2 separate regions of the Homo sapiens genome follow, and region 1 is linked to region 2. The links are contacts of gene promoters, found by promoter capture Hi-C in human tissues and cell types (Jung and others, 2019). All regions are on one chromosome and are shown on one strand. The core of a region is centred on a gene start or on the middle of the fragment in contact, and the rest is flanking DNA. Distances in the headings are between cores, read along the strand shown. Region 1 has its middle 190 kb from the start of PLN. Region 2 holds the start of PLN (phospholamban).

What was found. Contacts are between HindIII fragments. The study calls those that stand out against the background at their distance.
Region 1: a fragment that was not itself captured here is called in contact with the fragment with the promoter of PLN in region 2 in 1 of the 25 tissues and cell types used here (adrenal gland).

Annotation. Positions count from the first base shown.
Region 1 is chr6:118,353,434-118,358,720 of GRCh38, forward strand. No RefSeq gene overlaps it. Among named protein-coding and RNA genes, the nearest start is that of PLN, 190 kb to the right of the region's middle. The HindIII fragment of the contact is 7,661 bases long and covers 1-5,287 here.
Region 2 is chr6:118,545,034-118,549,931 of GRCh38, forward strand. It overlaps PLN (phospholamban), which reads left to right and starts at 3,263. Exons shown (of 2, transcript NM_002667.5): 1 at 3,263-3,359. The region is part of intron 3 of CEP85L (centrosomal protein 85L); the gene reads right to left. The HindIII fragment of the contact is 9,299 bases long and covers 1,596-4,898 here.

The DNA of each region.
Region 1 (5,287 bases), core at 957-3,456, 190 kb before region 2:
AGTGGCAGGTAGCTGGAAGAATACTCAAGGAATCATAAACAGTTTCAACATGGCTTTTACTCTCTCTGGGTGTGAGCAAGCCCAGGTGCAAGCTGTGGGCATAAACCTGGGCACGAGCCTGGCCATGAGCCTGGCCTCAAGCCAACCTGGGTGCAAGCCATAAGTACATTCTCTCTCTGGGAGTGAGCCTGGGCATAACCCATATGTACAGCGTTAGCAGGGTAATTATACCATTTACAGACAACAGTGGCTCCGAGCCAAGCACAAGCTCACATGGGTGATCACCTAATGTGCCTCACATGGTGTGGTTTCATAATGTGCAGAGTTGTGCACCTGCACTCCAAACCCATTGAGTCATGCTACATTGGAAGGCCACCTTGGCCTACCCTTGACTGCAGCACATTCATTTTCCTTACATCAAGTCACTTTAATACTAATACTATTTACTCAGGAAATAATTTTTAAACAATAGACTCAACAACAATAAGCTAGACTATAGCAGAAGAGAACAAAAATGGAAGACAACATGAGGTAGCCAGCAGAGTTCCTTGTGAGAGCAAAAATGAGCCAGTTCCTGTGGAATTCATGGCCTATCTATCAGGAATTGTTGATGGAAAGGGTGCTGTGATGTGGCCATCACTGCTGATGGCCCAGGTATGGCTAGTGACACCCACCAGTGTCCAGGGAACTGATGATGAGGGATTCACAGCCACTGTCTCCTGATAGTCCCACTCCAGGTCTCTATGAGCATAGCAGGCAGTTTACAAAGGGAAAGTCTGTGAACATTTCAGCCTGGTACCGATCCATGTAAATTTGAACAGTAGATGTAACAAAAACTAAACCTTGAATTGTTGCTTATTAACAAACTATAAATTACCTACTACAAGAAATGAAGCCCAGTTGCCAGACCAACATAGGATATGGACAACTAACTAGATGAGGTCTCAGAAAAAGCAATGGAAGGCTTGCTGACTTAGAGTCTAATGCAACTTTAATGTAATCTTTATCAAGCAACTATGCTATAATTTCTCTGTCCATGTTCCATTAGAACATCCAAAATCATCTACCTGAACCATCAATCCCTTGCTGCCATTCTTGATGACAAGTTGGGATTTTCTAATTCAGTAAAAAAATAGAGTATAAGAAACTAGCCGCATGTAAAAACCCCAAGCTTAGACAATCTCTCACTGAGCCAGATAGAGGGAGCCTGGATAAAAATCAACACACTATGCCATCCATTGCAGCTATTATTAATTCAAAATTCCCCTAACACTTGTGACAAATTTTTAACATATCTAAAATTGATAGTTCCATGTGTGCCAAACACCCTTTATATGGCCTATGGATGCAAACAGACATTGTTGGCTTTGTTCAACTTTATGCCTTTCTCTATTTTACTCATTATACCTCAAACCACATTGTCACTTTCAGTTCCTCAAATACATCAAGCTTATTTCTTTCTTGAGATTTATGTACCTGCTGATCCCACCTCCAGGAATGCCGTTCCCTTGAGTCTTTACATACCTACTTACCCTTCAAGTCTCAGAACAAATGAGACGTTTCTTGACCTTTCTAGTGATTCTCAACTAGCCCTGTATAATTGGTTCTCAAACTTGGCTGTACATTGGAATCATCTGAGGTTTTTTAAAAACATTGATGCCTGCATCTCCTCCCCAAAAATTCTGATTTAATTTGTCTGGGGTAAAGTCTTGGCATTTAATTTTTAAAATACCCCCAGGTGATTCTAAATTGCATGAAATTTTAGAATCACTGGCCTATATCTTTTCACCATATTTGTTTCCTTTATAGCACTTTGCAGGCTATAATAGTGATTAATGTGCTTTTTTTAAATTTATTGGCTGTTGACCATAAAGGCAGGATTTATGTTTATTTTATTTATCACCAAAAGTATTTGATGAGTGAATACATAATGGAAAAAAATCACTGAGCATTTCATATTCGACATTAAAAAGTCATAGTAGCCCAAACTACCACTTCTGCAAGTTCAATGTTCCTATAAATCATCTAGCGTCTTGTCAAAATATGAATTCACATTCTGTATGATTTGGGAGAAGGCCGAGATTTTACACTTCTAACAAACTCCCACATTTTGGGTAGCAAGGGTCTAACATAATGTTTGCCCGAACATCCCTAAAAATAAGAGTCACTTGCAACCTCTAACTAAAAGAACAAATTACTGGTTCCCAATTCAGAATTACTTAATCAGAATTTCCATAGGAGGAGAATGGTAATCTGCATATATAATATGCATCCCAGCTGATTATTAACTTCAGGGAGGTTTGGTAAGCTGAAGAGTTACTCAGATACTATTACTTATTGTGTCTGTTTTCAAAAGTAATAAAAGGAAATTGCTAATTAGATTAGCAATTAACCCCCCTCCCCCCTATATATAAATAAAACTCTGGACAAAATAGAATGAAAAACTACCTGAAGATTCTGGAGAATAACAAAAGCAAGTAGATTCTGAAAGGAAGCTGACACTTGAGAAAAGAAACTGGTAAGGGGTTGCTTTTCCCTTTTTATGGCATTTAGTCCCAAATCAGTCATGCTGAAGTCTGTCGGTAAAGAGAAGCTAAAACTCTAATGAAAAAACAGAAGTCTAGGAGAACAGACTTCAGGGTAACCATGGTCACTTGATTATATAGGAGGAAGGCTAAAAAGTAGCGACCCAGAGGGAAAGAGCCCAAAATCTGTGTGCAAACTTTTGCCTGAATCTCTAGCTAAGCCCTGAACTGTGCATGGGTGGGTAGTCTGCAAGCAAACCACCTAAGGATAAAACAACTGAATGGAGATTTGAGTAACTGCCAAGAGGCATAGTTTGCAAGTTTAAGTCTAACAAACTTCACTGGCAACCAAAATAAAATTGCCAACATTCTTAAGAGGATTATAATTGAATCCAGTCTCCATAACACAACATTCACAATGTCCAAGATAGAAATCAAAATTAGATACAAAAAGACAAATATTGTGTTATTCTACTTATGTAAGGTATGTAGAATAGGCAAACTCATAAGGACAGAACATAGAAGTTACCAGGGGCTGGAAAAAGGGAGACTGAGACTCTGGAACTCTTTAATAAACAGAGTTTCCATTGGGATGATGAAAAAGATCTGGAGATGGACAGTGGTGATGATTCCACACATTGTGAAGTACTTATTGCCACTGCAATGTACCCTTAAAAATGGTTAACATTATACATTTTATATTGTGTATGTTTTGCCATAAAATAGAAAATAAACCCACTATAACAGAAATGAAGCCTGCTTTCAGTAGATCATCAGTAGACTGAGCACAGGTTAGAAAAGAAGCTGTGAGCTTGAAGATATGTCAACAGAAAATTCCAAAATGAAGAGTAAAGAGAAAAAAGAATGAAATAAAAAGGAATAGAATATCCAAGAACTATGGGACAATTATAAAACTGTAGGACAATGATGCAATATATGTGTAATGAGAATGCCAGAAAGAGAAAAAAGAAGAGAAAGAAACAGAAGAAATATTTTAAGTAATAATGGCTAAGGATTTTCCAAAATTAATGTCAGACACCAAAACATGGATTCAGGTAGCTCAGAGAGCAACAACCAGGATAAACACCAAAATATCTATACCTAGGAATATCATATTAAAACTGCAAAAAAAATACAAAGAGAAAATGTTGAAAAAAGCCATAGAATAAAAATACTTATAGAGAAACAAGAATAACAATTACATCAGACTTATCTTCAGAAATCATGGCAGCAAGAATAATGTGGAGGGAAATATTTTAAATGTTGAAAGAAAAAAACCCACTAAGTGAGAATTCTGTTTCTACTGAAATTATCCTTCTAAAGTGAAGAAGAAATAAAGATTTTCTCAGGCACACAAAAATTGAGATAATTTGTTGACAGTATAACTGCTTTACAAGAAATATTAAAAGAAGTTCTTCAGAGAGAAGGAAAATGATATAGGTTGGAAACTCAGACCTACGTAAAGAAAGGGAGCTGGTGAAGGAATAAATGAAGGTGAAATAAAGTCTTTTATTTTTCTTGTTCTCAATTGATTTAACAAACAAGAGTTTATTCAAAATAATAATAGAAACAATCATTGAGTGATTATAATTTATAGAGAAGTGAAATGCAATACAATAAGGTAGAGAGGGAGGGACTTAGGAATATTCTGTTACAAGGGCTTGCACTAGTCATGAAACAGTATAGTATTATTTGAAATTGGACTTGGATTAGTTGTAAATGCATATTGCAAACTCTAGGGGAACCACTAAAAAAGTTGTTTTTTTTTTAAGAAGGATAATATATATGATAGAAAAGGAGAAGAAAGAGAATCATATAAAATGCCCAATTAAAATCAGTGAAGGCAGGAAAAGTATGAAAGACAAAAAAGAAAACCATGGCAACAAATAGAAAACAGATACAAATATGGTTGATATTGATCCAACTATATCAATAATCACTTTATATGTGAATGGTCTAAATACACCCATTAAAACACAGAGGCTATTGGAGTGGATAAAATGAACAAACAAACCAAAAAAAAAAAAAAAAGACCCAACTATATTTTGTCTAAAATAAATCCACTTCATATATATGAAGACATAAATAGATTAACAGTAAAATAATGAAGATATACTATGCTGACACTAATCAAAAGAAAATAGAAATAACTATATAGATTCAAATAGAGCAGACTTCAGAGTAAATAAAAATTATCAGGTATAGAGAAAGAACACTTTATATAACAACAAAGGGGGTCAATTCTCCAAGAAAACATAACAACCTCCCCCGCCCAAAAAAAGCCATAACAATCCTTAATATGTACATACCTAAAACAGAATGTCAAAATACATGAGGCAAAAATCAATAAAACTGCAAACTAAAACTATTATAGCTGAAGACTTGAACACCCCTTTATCAGTAATTGAGAGATCCAACAAGCAGAAAAGGACATAGTTGAACTGAACAGCACCATCAATTAACCAGATCTAAATGCCATTTATAGAATATTTCATCAAACAACAGCAGAATATACATTCTTTTCAAGGTCACATGAAACACCCATCAAGATAGATCACATTTGGGGCCATAAAACACACCTTAACAAATTCTGAATAATAATAGAAATCATACAGAGTATGTTCTCAGACCACAATGGAATTAAACAAGAAATCAATAATAGAAGGATATCTGGAAAACCTCAGAATATTTGGAGATTAAACAAGATATGTGTAAATAACAGATAGGTCAAAAAATCTCAAGAGAAACTTAAAAATATTTTG
Region 2 (4,898 bases), core at 2,013-4,512:
GATCTAATCTAAAAAAAGCTCCTTATCTTTGATGTATTGTGAACATTACAAAAATTGATTCAAAGCTTGCATTTTACTGTATCTCTGTCTAAATATTAAAATGCTTTAATTTAGTCATCACTTATATTAACTTCTGGTCAAAAATTTCCAAAAACCGATTCTATTTTGAAGCTTCTTCGCCCTCCGGATACACCACTACAGACTGGAGTTTAAATGCTCAATGTAAAAGATTACTACATACATCACAGTGCCCTTCACAAAACGTTAGTAATATAGCTGGGCGCGGTGGCTCACGCCTGTAATCCCAGCACTTTGGGAGGCCGAGGTGGGCAGATCACGAGGTCAGGAGTTTGAGACCAGCCTGGGCAATATGGTGAAACCCCATCTCTACTAAAAATACAAAAGTTAGCTGGGCGTGGTGGCACACGCCTGTAGTCTCAGCTACTTGGGAGGCTGAGGCAGGAGAATCGCTTGAACCCGAGAGGGAGAGGTTGCAGTGAGCTGAGATCGCACCATTCACTCGGGGCTGAGTAACAGAGTGAGACTCCGCACCCCCTTCCAAAAAAAATTAGTAATACTTTTGAGGAACACATTTAAAATGCTACAAAACTATATAAAAACAAAAGTAAAGACATGAACTCATGATTCAGTTGAAACTGAATACTAAATTTCATTTAGAGCTTAGTAAAAATAAATTTGTAATTATTTTCCCATCCAAGTTCAAAGACACTTTACCCTTAAGAATCCACCTTCTAAAGGAAAAAAGAAAATAAGTGCTAACACTAAATGAACACTGTTGCAGGATCTCTGATAATCACTATGTACACTTCATGTCATTAAACCATCACAAATACTATTCCACAGATTAGGCTGCTTAGGAAAGTTATTTGTATAAAGCCATGTGACCAAAAATACATTCAAACTATAGTGTAACTCCAAATGAAGACTGTGACAAAGCACCTCAAAAAAATTTTCTAGCCTCTAGCTGAGGAATCATTGAGGAACACTCTACTGATAACACTATAACTCATTAATACTCCTATTAAACAACTTTCTGTTTGGGCAATTAAAAACAATGTTCAGTTAAAACTAAAATCTAATACTTCCTAGAGTTCCACATGAGATCATCACCATCATCGTCATCTTCACTAGCTAACCCAAAGGAACAAGGTAAACACAAAAACTCCCCACTCTTGTACCAATCTAAAAAGTAAATTTTTGAATCCATTTTCCAACTGTGTCACACACAGTTGTTAGTATCCTTCTAAGGTGTGTATATGCCTATGTATACTTTTTAAGTAAACTTATAAACATGTGGTAACTAGGGCATATTTTATTCTGTCTACGGCAGCTTCTTGGTTTATCCAACTAAGTATTACTAATTCTATTTTCTTAGAATGAGAAGTTCTCAGAACAATGATCTATCACCTAAATTTCAAATGAATGTGTAACTGGTAGACAAACTTAAAGCAGACTTTCTAAAACTATTAACAGTGCTCAAGAATGCATCTATTTACATCTTAAAAATTTCTCAGTTACTATATGCTACTCTAATGAAAGCTATATTCAAATTATAATTTTTTCCCACAGCATGCCAACAGATTAGGAATTATAAACAGACAGATCTGGATTTGAATCCTGTCTATTCTTTAGCAGCTGGTTATCTCTGACAAATTACTGTAAACCTCGTTAGGCTTCTCGGTTTTGTATTATCAATCATCATTGGTAACTGATAGTACTGAGAGATCCTCATTATGTAAGGATTGAAAGAAAAATGGTTGTAGCACTGAGAAAAGTATCAAACATTATTCTGCAATTTCCTTAACTTGGGTTTTACTTTTAAGTTGTAAATTTTCCCTTGGCAATGTTCACAGGATATCTTTGCTAAAATATTATTTTTCAGTTAGTTTTAAGCTGACTCTTTAAATATCAAATGATTTGCTCTAGAGATGGATTTTCTTTCTTTGGAAGAAGCCAAGATCATTTCCATTTAAGGGCATGTAAGCAGCTGCTGCTACACATTTTAGTTACCCATAAGAAAGTGAAGTGGGCTAAGTTCACTCTGTCATAAGCATTTAAAAAATTAAAAATTACAAGTACCTCCTCTAAAATTAAAGAAGAGATTTAAGAATTAATATTTTCGAGTGTGGTGACTTAAGTAAATCTAACATCTAAGACAACAAATTAGATAAACAGAGAAGAGGAGAATGATGCCCGGCTTTACAAAAAAATTATTTCCCCAGTTCTACTGTAAGATAAACTGTTCTAGGAAGTTCAAAATATCATCTCACTTACTAGCATCTCATTTTTATAGTAATTTTCAGGAAAGCAACTGCTAGATTAAATGAGGCACATCCTTTCAAAAACATTACAAAACTTAAATTTCAACACATCAAACCTATAAAGCCTCATTAACTGAGATGTAACTGATTTGGAATCTGTAATTATTTCTTTTTTGCCATAAAGTTGCCCTTAATACTGCATCAGTTTATTAAAAATTTGGTAAGATTGTGTAATAATTTAATGCAATTGTTTTTAAAAAATCTTAAATACTTAAAGTAGCATATTGCTATTTTGGGGGTGTTGTATGTATCAGTTTAAATATAAGTATTACTATTCACAAATATATTGTTAAACTGCTAATTGAAGAAAACACAAATGAATTAAATACATTTATTAGTTCTTTAACTGTAAGATAAAAATAATTTTTTAAAACAAAAAGCAATTAGCCTGATTTTCTCATACTCCTTCTCCCATACACACAAGAACAAGAACAAAATAAGAAAACAGGTATAAAATTTTATTGTGTAAAAATATTTCACTTTCACTAAAAGCTAACATTATGAAGACACGTATTAAAGCAACAGCAGCAAGAATTCAATGAAAGTTGTTTTGCTTATACCTGTGTTTATTTTTCTCATAATTAAAATTCCTGCAGTAACTATTTTAGCTCTTCAACATCTTCACCATTAATATTCAATTATCTCTAAGCCTGAAGATGCATGAATCTTTAACAAAAGCTTTCCACCACCTCAAGTTTACTTATTTTTTTCATTTATCTACCATATACTGTTTTAAATTAAAAACAAAAGATGAAGCACAAAGTGTTAATGACTTTTCCATACCTAAAGTAAGAAGTTCTAAAGTTTGGTTGTGATAAGACTGAGACTGTGGCTAACCAATCGAAACTTCAGAATTCCTATGTGACATCATAAGACCTCCCTAGAACACTTTTTCTCCTCCACCTACTGCAACTGTTCCCATAAACTGGGTGACAGAGTCAGAAAACTCCCCAGCTAAACACCCGTAAGACTTCATACAACACAATACTCTATACTGTGATGATCACAGCTGCCAAGGTAAGAAACAGATTTCGCTGACTTTGGTAATTCTTACTTTCTATAATTCTTAATTCCTATAATTTCTATAATCTGAACTTTTAAAATGAGTTAATTTTATGAATATCAGTTCAATCTTAGGCAATAAAATGACATGACAAAGTGCTTAAATTTATAAATGCTTATCCATTTAGTGACAGGAAAAATGAGACAACTTTGAAATGAAAAAGGTCATATTCATCTTTGATCCTGGTTACTGGTTTGTCATTTAAATTTATCTTTCACTTTTATTTTGCTTTTCAAATGTGAATTTCTGCCAATTAAAAAATCTTCCAATTATGTTACCATATTTGGTAGTAGTGGTTAATTTCTCCATGCAAAAACAATGACTTAATTTTGTTATTTATTGCTCTGCTGAGAAACAGTGCAGAACTGAGCTATTTACATCTGAACTAATATGAATAGTCATTTGACTACAACATGCACATTATCAGCATGCCTATTCCAATATTATCATAATTTCATACAGTGAATAATGAAATGGAGTTTCAGAATATATAATACAAGCTACTTTTAAAGTGCCCTTGAGGATGTTTCCCCTCTAAAGTCCAGTCAACTTTTAACAAACATTTCTAAAAAAATTCCATGCTATTAATAAATTGAGTTACTGATATTAAATTCAATATTGTATCATAAAGAAGTTTAGAAATTTTAAAACAATGTTCACAAACACAAAAAATCTGACGTTAGAGAATAATTTGATACTTTAAAAAGTTATTTTGACACACGAATATTCTTAACTATCTTATTTTCACACAAATTTGATTAAATGGATTTCTGCCTATTAATGCCTATAGTTTTGTCAAGTTATTATCCTCCAGTGGTACTCCATTTCCTCTCTCGGATTTAGAAAGAAAGGAAAAAATAAAATAAATGCCAGGAATGGAGATGCCACAATCAATTTTATGACTTCTGTTTGAATTCTACCCTATTCTTTATGTTACAATCCTCAATTTAGTAAATGAAACGTTTCCTCATTCTTAGATCTCTGTCAGGGCATACAGAAAATTACATATATTTTATTTATTTTGATTTTCATATTTCATATATATGTTAAAATAAAATTTATCTCTAAAATTCTCAATTCCTATGACAAATGTTAATTCTATTGCTCACTACAAATAAGAACTTTGTAACTCTGTAAGCAGCTTTCCTTAAGACATAAAAAAACATAATTTTTGTCTACCACTGAGGTATCCTAATTGTGTCTCCATATCTCTATACTCATATTTTTCCTTTGATAGTACATAAAAGTCATTCAGTGTAGGTGTCTTATGTTATTTGTGCATTTTTATTCAAATATCTATCAAATTACATTCTCACACTTCAAATTGGGTGTTCACGAGTTATTTTATTGTATCAGAATTTTGCTATATCACATATTACTCTAAAAAGTACACATACTTCTGGATAGAGCAGAAATTATATTAAACTTACCCTTAGCTCACTAGTATGTCTCAGTTAACAGAAATTACAGTTACAGAGACTGCTAAAATTTCA